2 separate regions of the Homo sapiens genome follow, and region 2 is linked to region 1. The links are contacts of gene promoters, found by promoter capture Hi-C in blood cells and fetal thymus (Javierre and others, 2016). All regions are on one chromosome and are shown on one strand. Each heading gives the region's core, a stretch centred on a gene start or on the middle of the fragment in contact. The rest is flanking DNA. Distances are from core to core; before and after follow the strand shown. Region 1 holds the start of BICDL1 (BICD family like cargo adaptor 1). Region 2 overlaps GCN1 (GCN1 activator of EIF2AK4).

The links. The method cuts DNA at HindIII sites, captures the fragments that hold promoters and counts their contacts. A CHiCAGO score of 5 or more calls a contact.
Region 2: a contact is called between a fragment that was not itself captured here and the fragment with the promoter of BICDL1 in region 1, in 1 of 17 cell types (activated CD4 T cells). The highest score is 5.7, in activated CD4 T cells.

Annotation. Positions count from the first base shown.
Region 1 is chr12:119,986,299-119,992,752 of GRCh38, forward strand. It overlaps BICDL1 (BICD family like cargo adaptor 1), which reads left to right and starts at 2,938. Exons shown (of 10, transcript NM_001367886.1): 1 at 2,938-3,999. The coding sequence starts at 3,571. RefSeq lists silencers at 2,486-2,545, 2,566-3,205, 3,486-3,575, 3,626-3,695, 3,706-3,915 and 1 more and enhancers at 2,609-3,582, 3,583-4,554. The HindIII fragment of the contact is 12,107 bases long and covers 1,034-6,454 here.
Region 2 is chr12:120,133,479-120,139,932 of GRCh38, forward strand. GCN1 (GCN1 activator of EIF2AK4) reads right to left here. Exons shown (of 58, transcript NM_006836.2): 46 at 5,217-5,378; 47 at 4,845-4,937; 48 at 4,423-4,566; 49 at 4,067-4,336; 50 at 3,728-3,841; 51 at 3,024-3,254; 52 at 1,055-1,248; 53 at 813-927. Among named protein-coding and RNA genes, the nearest start is that of MIR4498, 19 kb to the right of the region's middle. The HindIII fragment of the contact is 4,171 bases long and covers 274-4,444 here.

The sequences.
Region 1 (6,454 bases), core at 1,688-4,187:
AGATAAGTGGAACAGATTAGGACCATTGGGCTCAAGGCAGGCAAACAAAGTCATTTTTTGAAAGATAGGCTGCATGTCTGCATTAAGGAAAAAGAGCTGAAACTCTTTTTTTTTTTTTTTTTTTTGACAAGTTCTTGCTCTGTCACCCAGACTGGAGTGCAATAGTATGATCAGGGCTCACTGCAGCCTTGATCTTCCAGGCTCAACTCACCCTCCCATCTCAGCCTCCTGAGTAGCTGGGGCTATAGGCACACACCACCATGCCTGGCTAATTTTTTTGTATTTTTTGTAGAGACGGGGTTTTGGCCATGTTGTCCAGGCTAGTCTCAAACTCCTGGGCTTATAAGACCCTCCCACTTTGGCCTCCCAAAATGCTGGGGTCATAGGCATGAGCCACCCAACTGGTGGAGAGACAGGATCTTGCCATGTTGCCTGTTATAAGTAAAATGTTTATTTAGAAACAGAATGCTTGTTCCTCGGTACCACGAGGAAAAATCAGCATTTAGAGAGAAAGTTTTCTCAGCAATGCAATTTTAGTTTCTGCAGAAAGGGTGCTCCTTGCAGCTGGAACAATGGCAAGAGCACACCTGAATAAAGGAAAGAAGCAATTTTTATCCCTTACGCAGTTTGTCCCTGCTACTGTGCCTTGTCTCCATTGGCTGGAGCCAGACCTTACAATTTAAACTGAACCTGATAGGCTAACAACTTAAAACTTTTCTAAATAGGTAAAAGCAATGGAGAACAAAGGAAAAGAGGAAGTTATTTATGAAAAGACTTAGAAAAGTAGTAACATTCCCAAATAGGGAAGGGGCATAGGCTGCAAGCTGGGACATGCCAGTGAGCATGTCCAGCACAGGTATCTTGGTTAAAGTACATGGACATAGAATGTACTCATTCCCTTAGATCTAACAGCTACATAGGAAAGGGCTTAACAGAGAGTTATTAGCATAAAATAAGGTGGCTTGAAGGAAGTTAGTCTTTAAAAGAAACCATTATTTCTAACACTTATTATTCATTCTTTAACAAGAAGGGAAGCTTTGAAGAGGAAACTTTACTTTCTACATTGTCCAAGCTGGTCTTGAACTCCTGGGCTCAAGCAATCCTCCTGCCTCAGCCTCCCGAAGTGCTGAGATTATAGGCAGGAGCCACAGAGCCTGGCCCTGTTTGTTCTTGATGTGTCTCCAGACATATTAGGGAGAAATTTGTCCTTCTGTGATTCAAATAAGACAAAAGGAAGTGGCAATTGGATCTCACCTCTGGCCCACAATTCCAGCTCAAGGTGGGAGGTCATAATAAAAAGTGTTAGAACATTTCCTTGCTGGAATGGTAACATGGTCAACTGCAGAAATTTAGCTCTAAGATTGATGTGGGAATCCCTCAACTGTCTGTCTCCTTTCCAGTCAACAAGTGAACAATGCCAGCCCTGAGGCCCAGGAGCTTTTCAGATTCTGGCCTTCAGTCTAAGGGTAACGATGTTAAAACTTGAATATTGTTTAGGCTCTGAATTTAATAAGCGATAAAAACCATGAGAAACTATTTGACCCATTTCAGCCTCTTGATGTTCTGAAATTTCCATCTCACTGGGATGAAAAGAAGAAAGGCATGATCCAAGTAAAAAATGGGTTGTCTGTCCAAGAGGAAAAGGAAGCATAGGGACGAATTCTAGCTTTAGATGGGATTGTTTCTGGAAATAGGAGACACGTAGCACCACCAACGAGGTCAACACCAAGGAATGACTGCAAGTCACCCAGTAGGCTCTCCAAACCTTCCTTTAATCATTGAGGAAATGTTCCTTCCATATCCACCCAATCCATCTTGGTCACAAAGGACCATTTATCTTCCTCAAGACTGCTTCTATGTGAAGAAAATAAAGAATAATGATTCACGTGATCCCTGGCGTCGGCCTGGCTAGATCTCAATCCTGACTCTACCAGTTGTAATGACCTGGGCAGACGATGCCATCTCTCAGGCTTTAATTTCCTTCTCTGTTAAAATGACAAGCGGCAGTACTGATTTTATAAAGTTCTTGTGAGGATTATCTAAAATAATGACTATCAAGCACTTAATACAGGACATGGCACACACTGAGTGCCGAATAAACGGTAGTTATTATTAGGGAGGTTCTTTGCTTCGTATTCCCATCTGTGAGCAGTTTTTTCCGTTATTTCTCCGCAGAAACCCTTTCTCTCCGGGCTGCTGATCTGCGAAGCATCTGGTCCTTCATATCCCTGAGTCATCAGCATGAAGATGCCTGGTTTCCGAAGTCCTCCCTCCTCCTACTGCTCTCTAGGGCTCCCTCTCCTGACTGCTTAGTTCTCCTGGGGGCCCAGACCTAAATTTCGTGAGGGTATGTCTTTCTCGGGGCCGGGTCACCAGTCTTGGAGGAATGTCCTCAGTCCCCTTTGCCCCAGACACCACCAGAGATGCGGCAACAGAACTCTGAGGCGCGCCCCGGCTTCCAAGTAGCTGGGGGCGGGGCCGCGCCTGGAGGTGAGCAGCAGGCGGTGGGCGGGGCCGCGCTCCGTCCGAGGTGAGAGCGAGGCCGGGTGCGAGGCCACACCCCGAGGTACGAGAGCTGAGGGCGTGGCCACACCCCAGCTCTGAGCGAGGCTGAGGGCGGAACCGCACCCCGAAGTGGGTGCAAGGCTGGGGGCGTGGCCGCGCGGTGAGGCAGCCAGGACCGTGAGGGATGCGCCAGCCGCCTCCGCAGGCGGCGCGCGCAGCCGCCCGCAGGGCGTGAGGCAGAGCAGGGGTTAAGGCCGCCGGCGCCACCTGGGCGTCGCTGAGGAGACCCGCGAGCCGGCGAATCCCGCGCGGGCGGGGCGAACAGGTGCCCGCGCGCGTCAGGCGCCGGCAAGGGGCGGGGCGAGGGGACGCGGCCGGAAGCCCGGGGCGGGGCGCTGCCGGCCCGGTGAGCCGGGAGGAGCCGGGGAAGGCAGGAAGGAGCTCGCCGGGTTGCGCGGCGCGCGATGTGGAGCCGCCGCCTCGGCCCCTGCAGCAGCAGCAGCCGCCGTCGCCGCCGCTGCTGCTGGGGCTGCCGCGGAGCCGGGGGTCATGGAGTGCGGCTGCAGAGAGCGGCCGCCGGCAACAGCAGCAGCAGCAGGAAGCGTCGCGGCGACAGCGGAGCGCAGCCCGCCCCGTGAGGCGCTGCCCGGCCGGCGGCGGCAGCAGCAGCAGCAGCGGCAGCGGCAACAGGGCGGCTGAGAACCCGGCGGCGGCGTTCCTCCTCGCTTCCTCCCCTCCCGCTTCGCCGACCCTCAGTCTCTGTTCCTGAGTCCTCCCTTCCCCAGCCTTCCCGTTCCCACCACCTACTCCGCCACTACCCCCACCCCCTCCTCCCGCGCGCGCCTGAGCAGCTGAGCCCGGGGGCGGGGGAGGGGGCGCGTGCCGCCGGCGCGGGGGAGGGGCGGGCCGGCGCGCGCCGCGCCCAGGGCTCGCGGGGACCCGGGGGCGCGTGCCGCGGCGCGAGGCGAGGCGCGGGACGCGGGGCGGCGCGGCAGGGCCCCTCCCCCCTGCAGCCTGGCGCGCGCGGGCCGGGCCGCACCGCTGCGGGCTCCGCGCGCGCGGGCCATGTCCGCTTTCTGCCTGGGCTTGGTCGGCCGCGCTTCAGCACCCGCCGAGCCGGACAGCGCCTGCTGCATGGAGCTGCCCGCCGCGGCCGGGGACGCAGTCCGGAGTCCCGCCGCCGCCGCCGCCCTCATCTTCCCCGGGGGCTCCGGGGAGCTAGAACTGGCGTTAGAGGAGGAGCTGGCGCTGCTGGCGGCCGGGGAGCGGCCGTCCGACCCCGGGGAACACCCTCAGGCCGAGCCTGGGTCTCTGGCCGAGGGGGCCGGACCGCAGCCGCCGCCCTCCCAGGACCCCGAGCTGCTGTCGGTGATCCGACAGAAGGAGAAGGATCTGGTGTTGGCGGCCCGGCTGGGTAAGGCGCTGCTCGAGAGGAACCAGGACATGAGCCGGCAGTACGAGCAGATGCATAAGGAGCTGACAGACAAGCTCGAGGTGAGGACCTCCCTCCAGGGATGGGTGGGGAGCAGGGGCCGCCCAGGCACGCGCCCGGCCCTGGGCAGTTAGGGAACCACTCACCCCCACTTCGTTGCTCACCCTACCTCGCAGAAAATCTGGAATGAATGGGGGAGGGAGGATGGAGGATTATCAGATTTCGTTGAACCCACTTGACTTCCCCACCCCGCTCACAGCAAATGGGTCCATGCGTGGCTCCAGCCGCTGTGGGCCGTTCTATATACGTACTGTACCCAGCATCTAAAATAGAGCTTACAGTATGACTATATAGCACTGAGGTGATGTCTGCATACAGAGAAATGAGGAAGTCGGGAAGCATTTAAAATATGTTGCAGGTTTTCAGAGCAGTTAATCTCTAATCAGGGTGTTAGCCTAAAGCCTTCCAGTTTGGGCGTTAAGGCCTTTAGATGCCCTTGTCTTAACTTCCTGGCAGCTCAGAGTTGTGGGAAACAAGTGCCCCTAAAGGAGCTTTATATAGCCTTCAAATGCTCAGGGATTAGGAAATGTGGTTCCATTGCAGAAATCAGGCGAGCCAGGGCTCAACATGTGACCGCTGGTAGTGGATTTAATTTGGGCCTCAGTATTTATGTGTATTTAAACAGTACTTTTCTGTGTTCTGGGTCTCAGGCTTGCAATTGAATGACCAAATGCAACCTATGAGAACCATATTACTTTAACTTCTGTTATAAAATACCTGTTAAGGTATCCGTAATATTTCTGCCAGTTCTCTAGGCAGTCTTTCAGAGTTGTTTGTTTTCTTGCCCTTAACTAGAAAAGGGCCTTGAATGCAGTACAGAATGCCAGCATTTCTAAAAATTAGATTGCAAAAAAAAGGGGCAGGGGGATGGGGAGAGGGAGTCACCTGTGACTTACCTTTCCTGCCTGTGCGTTTACTATTATTGTTACCTAGTTTGGTTGCAGCCAGCTCTTTTCATTCTTAGTTACAGCAAGACAATAGTACAGACCTGAATGAGGTTTGAAATTGACCCTAGTCAGGTTCCGTATCTCTGCTACTGGTTGAACAGTCAGAATGGAAATTCAGAAATATTCTGTAATAAGATTTAAGTATGCCTATAGTCCAGCGACGTAAAAGTAAATCCGGGAGAAAAAAAGGAAACCTGTGAGTGCCCTGTAGTTCGGTTGTCCTGCTAACTAGGTCTGCCAGTCGATGAACTCCTGAGATACCTCTCTGAAAAGTCGTTTGTGAAACCTATAGGTAGACTGCCAAAAAGCAGCCTAATGAATTGAATTGTTTAATTTTCACTTGAAGTAGAGGTCTAGAAATAAAAAGCCTTCCTTTTTTTTTTATAAAGAGATTCAGTTGTACGACTTTGTAAAGAAGTACAACTACAGAGATTTATACTTGTGATTTGAAATTTCTTCAGTGAAGGACTTGATTGAAGAGACAGCTGACTTGAAAGGAGCACCGTATCAGTTTGATTAGTGCCAGATTTCATAGTAATCCTGAGTGTGCAATTACATACATTCTGGGTTCCATGTGGAGCCTTTATACATTTCTTCAACATAGGGCAAAGATTTCAGAATGGTAACAAAAAAAGGTTGTATTGTAAAAGAATAAATTATCTTTGACATTTTGTTATTTACTTAATGGACAACAATAGTTTAAAACTCTTTAAACTATTTTTTAAAACCTTCATTCCTCTGCAGGTCAGCATATGAACTCTAGTTTTAAAAGTTCAATTTTAAGTTCTGGAGATAGTCGCACAACAATGTGAATATAACTAACATATACTTAACATATACTTACAGGCCAAATATTGATCATTGTTGAAACTCAGTGATGAGGGGAGTCAGTTATATTATTTCTTATAGGTAGGTTTGAAAATTATAAAAAATTTTAAAGTTTTAAAAATGTTCATTAAAGATACTAAGAGAGTACCATTAGTTGCTTGTTAATCTTTCTAGTGTTAATGTGAGAGTGACAAACCTGGTTTACAGAGTACTGTTTTATTTGACACCTCCGGTTTAGTTTTCCCCACAGTACATTGTTTGAACAATGTAGGTTTTAGAATGTCTGTTTAGACAATACTTTCTAACGTTCAGTACAAACTGCTGTACTTTGTACTTTTTTCTTTTTTAGACAAGATCTCACTCTATCCCCCAGGCTGCAGTGGAGTGGCTGATCATGGCTTACTGCACCCTCAAGTGACCCTCCCACTCAGCCTCCTGAGTAGCTGGGACTACAGGCGCCTACTACACACCTGGCTAATTTTGTAAAAATGTTTCGTAGAGATGGGGTCTCACTATGTTGCCAAGGCTGGTCTCAAACTACGGGGCTCAAGCAGTCCTCCTGCCCTGGCCTTCCAAAGTGGTGGGATTACAGGAGTGAACCATTGAGCCTGGCCTGTATTTTCAATTAAATCAAACACTTGGGAGTATAAAACCAGTACTTTAAGACGCATTTATTCATGAG
Region 2 (6,454 bases), core at 1,109-3,608, 150 kb after region 1:
GGCCCAGACAAGTCTCACCCTCGAAAATAGACCTCTAAGACTTGCCACCGGGACACACCCTGGAGACCATTTATCCCACTACACACTAAGTTTCTTGAGGTCTGTGACCACGAGGTCTATGCACCTCTGGGATAGGCCCTTTAGCTCGGCAAATGTTTCACAAAACAATAAATAAACCTCTTCATTTTACAAAAGTGGAAATGAGAGGCAGACAGAGAAAGTGACTTCTTTAAGATCAGAGAGCAAATAGGTGAGAGGTCTGGGTCTCTACAAAGCTTACTTGCCTCATCTATAAAATAGAAATAACCGGCCGGGCGCGGTGGCTCATGCCTGTTAATCCCAGCACTTTCGGAGCCCGAGGCGGGTGGATCACCTGAGGTCAGGAGTTTGAGACCAGACTGACCAACATGGTGAAACCCTATCTCTACTAAAAGTACAAGTATTAGCTGGGTATGGTGGCGGACACCTGTAATCCCAGCTACTCGGGAGACCGAGGCAGGAGAATCGCTTGATAGGAGGCGGAGGCTGCAGTGAGCCGAGATTGTGCCACTTCACTCCGGCCTGGGTGACACAGCAAGACTCAGCCAAAAAACAAACAAACAAACGGAAATAACCAATATATCCACAATACCTGCCCCGTTTCCCTTGAAACCCGAGGAAATGTTGGTGAAGCATACAGGGTGATAGAAATGTCAGGAATGCTTATTACTACTGAGCTGTACTGGTTCTAACACAAAGTGAAGAACTCAACCTAAGGAGGAGGAGGGAAACCAGTGGTCCAGTGCTGCCACTAGTCCTGCCTGCAGCCGTACCTCATCGTGTCCCAGCATGCTCAGCAGGAGTGAGACGATGTTTTTCCGGATGACGGCATCCACTTTGGCCCCTGCTCCCTGAATCACAAACCTCAGGGCCTGCAGCATGGTGTCCCTGCAGAAGCAATGCACCGCCTTAAGCCCTGGGTGCCTCCACCACCACCCCTCCTGCCAGCGCAGGCTCGGCCCACAGCAACCCCTGGCCTCCTGGAGGCCACAGTGCTCCCTTGCCAGCGCCGTACCTGACACCTGGGTCCTCCATGGCGCGGATGCCATTGAGCAGCTCTGTGAAGAGGGGGTCCACCTTAATGTGGATGGAAATGAGCTTCCCCAGAGCATCTGCGGCCTTCAGGCGCACCCCCCGGTTGGAGTCCTGCAGGGCTTTGGTGAAAGTGGTCTGCAGCTGGGGCAGGAAGGGCTTCAGGGCAATCCCAACCTGTGGGAGGAACCCACATCCATGAAAGACAGTTGTGGTAGACCCAAAGCCACAGTGTACCACAGGCATGAGAACAAATGACAATCCCAAACCACCACAGCGAGTCCAGCTCTCATACAGGGCTGGGGACAGATAGCCCGTCAGAGAGGCCAAACACAGACAGGTTTCGCTTGGCCTCCTGGTCATATCCAGCATGCTTTGATACACTGGAGGAGCAGGAGGCCGAGGAGGCGGCGGCCGCTATCTGAGGGAGCTGTCTCGCAGCCTTGGCTGCGTTGGGGTTTGGCTTAGTGGAGACCTGTCCATATCGATAAGTGACTCAAATCCTCCTCTGAATACATTAACAAGCAGGGCAGACTATCGGCAGTACTGAAGCACAGTTCTAATGCCAAGACAGGGAAAGGGACTCAGTGTATAATTGCAGAGCCCATCTACTGAGCAACTGACAGCAGGATACGCACTCCACATTCAGCCCTCAGAACAAGCCTGTGAAACAAATGACCTTGGAGAATCCTCCCTGCACAAATGTGTACCCACCTAACTAAAAATCCAGTTCAACCCCTGACTATACAGAAACACAGGCACACTTTTGATACAATACAGGTGGGTCCAAGAGTAAAGATTTACTTACTGTTTTTTGTTTTGTTTTTTTTTTGAGACGGAGTTTCGCTCTTGTTGCCCAGGCTGGAGTGCAAGGCGCGATCTCAGCTCACTGCAACCTCCGCCTCCCGGGTTTAAGCAATTCTCCTGCCTCAGCCTCCTGAGTAGCTGGGATTACAGGCACCCGCCACAATGCCCGGCTAATTTTGTATTTTCAGTAGAGACAGGGTTTCTCCATGTTGGTCAGGCTGGTCTCGAACTCCCGACCTCAGGTAATCTGCCCACCTCGGCCTCCCAAAGTGCTGGGATTACAGGCTTGAGCCACCACGCCCGGCTTACTTATTGTTAATTAGGAAAACCAGAGTGACTGTTTGGAGGTTCAGTGCCAATGAAGGTCTGGAAATACTGGAGTTGGGTGGGTGTGCAGGCTGTGGCAGGCACACAAAGGGGATAGGGGGAGCTGGTAAATCTGAGCTGTGCGAGGTCAGGAGTTCGAGACCAGCCTGGTGAAACCCTGTCTCTACTAAAAATACAAAAAAATTAGCCAGGTGTAGTGGCAGACACCTGTAATCCCAGCTACTTGGGAGGCTGAGGCAGAAGAATTGCTTGAACCCAGGAGGCGGAGGTTGCAGTGAGCCGAGATCGCGCCACTGCACTCCAGCTCTGGGTGACAGAGTTAGACTCTGTCTCAAAAACAAAACAAAACAAAACAAAAAACAAAAAAAAACAAAAACTGCAATATCTTTAAACAATGTTTTCCTTGTATTTACGTGGTCCTGAATTTTTTCCTTTGAAAAAGTAGTTTTTCAAAATAATAGCATTTCACATGTACTGAGTGCTTAGTATGTAGCAGGCATCATGCTGGACATAACCTCATCTAATCCCCATATCTAGCAGCCCTTCATGAGGCAGCTGGTATTATTAGTCTCACATTGTAGGTGAGGAAACAGGCTTAGGTTATATGGCTTTCCCAAGGTCATCCTGGTCACAGAGCTAGTAAGGACGACTTGGAATTGACCCATGGTGTAGCATGTCTGAAGTCCAAGGTCTTACCTCCCTCTGCTATGCGGCTCTCCACAATAAATCTGTTGCCCTGCTGCTACATGACACCTTGTATCAGGCTCCTGCAGACAGACCTGTTCTCTAAGATCTGAACAAACTCATCAGCCACTCACCTTAGCCAACAAGAGGCTGAGTGTCTCGAGCAGAGCCGCCTTCACATTCCAGCTGAACCTGTCCCCCAGGATGCGGATCAGAGGGCCAGTGATGCTGACCACGGAGGGCCTCAGGGCGTCAGCCGAGGTCAGGCGGATTACCAAGCCTAAGGCTTTGGCTGCCTCCTCCTTCTGCTCAGGGCTGCCAGTCAGGACTCCTTCCCGCAACACTGGAAGGATGGAGGTCACTCCCTGACAAGAGAACCACAACTGAGAGTCAAATCTCAAACACCCTGGGCCCTGGTGTCTCCCATGCAAGCAAAGTGGTCCTGACAGCTGTCCTCCCCTCAACTCCATGGGAGATATTGATTTGGGCTGAATCTCAGGATCACAGCCTGAGAGGGCTGGCTATGGAACGGTCTTGGCAGAGAAAAGACGACAAGGGCCCCAACAGGCCTATCACACAGAGAGAACATGCACTGCTGTTACCCTGTGGCCCACTCACTCTGGCCAAGGTGACCTGCAGAGCTTAAACCAAAGGCAGCATGAACCCTGTCCCCATCTGACTGCCATGGAAGAAAACATGCTGTCTGCGAAGGTGCTGAACACCAACCACCACGGCTACTGCTCCAGCAGCCCCTACCGCAGACCTGGGACAGGGGTAAGGGCCAGAAGGGCACAACAGACTGCACGCCCACAGCCCCCTGCACGAGGCCCTGGCTTACCTTCTTCGGGAGGCAGAATCCTGGCACATGCTCGCCTTTGCTCTCGTTCCCTATGAGCCGGATTTCCTTGTGCAGCTCTTCAATGAGTGCCAACTGGTTGCCAGCATCCAGCTTCTGCAGGAATCCAGGAAAAAGCGAGAGGATGTACAGCCCTCTCAAGACTGCTTCCAAAGAATATATGGGGAAAGCGTGGGCGGGAGTATAAACAAGACTTGCCACGAGTGGGTAAACGCCGAAGCTGAGTGACAGGTACGTGGGGGATTCTTATAAGTCTATTCCTGTAAATGTCTGGAATTTTCTAAAAGCAAAAGTTGGCTGTGGGGTCAGCAGTCCCCTCACCTTAGTGATGGCATTTAGGGCATCCCAGCTCTCCTCCAGAACCACAGGGCTGGAGTCATTGAAGAGGCGGATCAGGCCCGAGACCAGGCTCCGCAGGTGGCTGGTGTAGTCAGCCTTTGAGCGGGAACAGTAGATGTTGAGGATGATGGCAGCAGCTTGCCTCATGCCCACCTCAGGGCTGCGGGTGGCCTCCAGCAGATCCTCGATGATGATCCGGTGCCCTGTGTCATCCTCTACGGAGAGGATCACAGCCTGACAATTGGCCATCTCCTGCAAACCACAAGGGACATGTGTGCTGAGCAGGGATCCTCCGGGCAGACGGGACATGAGAAAGCAGGAGCAGGCTCGCCCCTTACCAGCTGCTCATCTGGGGTCCCAAGCTTTTCCTTCAGGGCCAGCATGACCGCTGGGAGGATCACGCCAAGATGACGGGTGAGGGCATCACCAGCCACTGACGAAAGGAAAGCCAGCACCCGGGTGTTGACAGGTGGCGTTGTCAGCTGGTGGAATGACAAACATTAACTCAGTGAATACTGTGCCAGGTGCTGCGCTAGGCTCTGGGAACAGACGGGTGGGCAAGAGAGCCCAAGCCCACTGCTCAGAGCCAAGCATCTACTCCAGCATATCTTGGAAGACAACAGGGGAAGGATGTAATGCTTGCACTGCACCCTCCTCCCCCAGCCCTCCAACATCTACGTTCAGAACTGGTCTTCACTGCAGGCCCTGGAAATGTCAATGCCCTGGAGCCAGAGGGTGTTGACCACATGTTGGGATTTACCTTGGGCACAAGGTAGGGCAGCACCACACGACTCTTAATAGCCATGACTTGCTTCAGACCATCCAAGGCAAACTCTGACACCTCCTCGTCATCCTGCAGAGGGTGTTGGGGACAACCCTGAGGAATCTGCATCTCTGCTGTCTCAACCAGCCACCGCCAACTTCCTTCTCCACTTGTTTCCCTCCCTCCTGTTGCACCCACATTTCCTCACTGCCGAAGGCGAAGCACAAAGCCAAGTCTGATCTTGCTATACCCACTCCCTCTGGAGGGCCCACATTGCGACTGCCTTGGCAGAATAATCGCCCTGTATTTTCCATCTACAAAGACGGCAAAAGCCAAACTGGTAGGTAGGTGTGTGGTAGATCCACTCACCAGCTGCTTTAGTAAAAATGGGAGAATGTCCTCCAGAGCCTGGTGGCCGATGGTGGAATGCAGCTGCTCGAAAGTCTTGGCTGCCGCCTCTCTGACCTCCTCCAGTGGGTCACACAAAGCCTTCCTTGCCGTGGGCACGAGGGATTCAGAGAAATACAGCACCTGCAATGGCAAGCTACAACTGTACCAGATGCAGGAAAGGCAAAGAAGGAGCAGAAGCAGACAAGAAGCACAGGCAGGGGACTCTGACCCAGCTAGGCCACCCTAACTCTCTTTGCCTGACTTGTCTTTTAACTTAACTCTTTACTGTGAAATAAAAAAAAGGAGAGAAGGGGCCGGGCACGGTGGCTCACACCTGTAATCCCAGCACTTTGGGAGGCCAAGGTGGGCGGATGACTTGAGGCCAGGAGTTCGAGACCAGCCTGGTCAACATGGCAAAACCCTATCTCTACTAAAAATACAAAAATTAGCTGGGTGTGGTGGTGCACACCTGTAATCCCAGCTACACAGGAGGCTGAGGCACAAGAATCGCTTGAACCCAGGAAGCAGAGGCTGTAGCCAAAAGAGATGGTGCCCCTGTACTCCTGCCTGGGCAGCAGAGTGAGATTGTCTTAAACTAAAAATTTTAAAAAAATTAAAAAGTAGAGAGGGGCCGCGCACAGTGGCTCACGCCTGTAATCCCAACACTTTGGGAGGTGGAGGCAAGAGAATCACTTGAGGCCAGGAGTTTGAGACCAGCCTGGGCAACATAGTGAGACCTCACCTCTACTAAAAATGCAAAAATTAGCTACGTGTGGTGGTGCACACCTATAGTCCCCAGCTACTCAGGAGGCCATAGCGAGAGGATCACTTGAGCCCAGAAGGTCAAGGTTACAATGAGCTATGATCGCACCACTGCACTCCAGCCTGGGTGACAGAGTAAGACCCCGTCTCAATAAAAAAAAAAAGCAGAGAGGATGTGATGCACCCCCATGTATCCTTCACTGAGACTTAATAATCAACAGCTTGAATCTTTTAGGTGAATTCTCAATATACCTCCCATCTTCTCTAAGAACTGCAAACTCCTTCCCATGGCATCTGGCCCCCTCTCTCCCTGGACTCTTTCTTTTGCTTATTCTCTTGGAAAACTCCAAGTCCTTCTTCAAGTCTCAATCCAGACTTTGTGCTCTATGAAGTCTTTGGGTCTACAATGGAGCCAATAATGGCTCTGCTCCCTCAGTAACGATCCCAGCACAGCA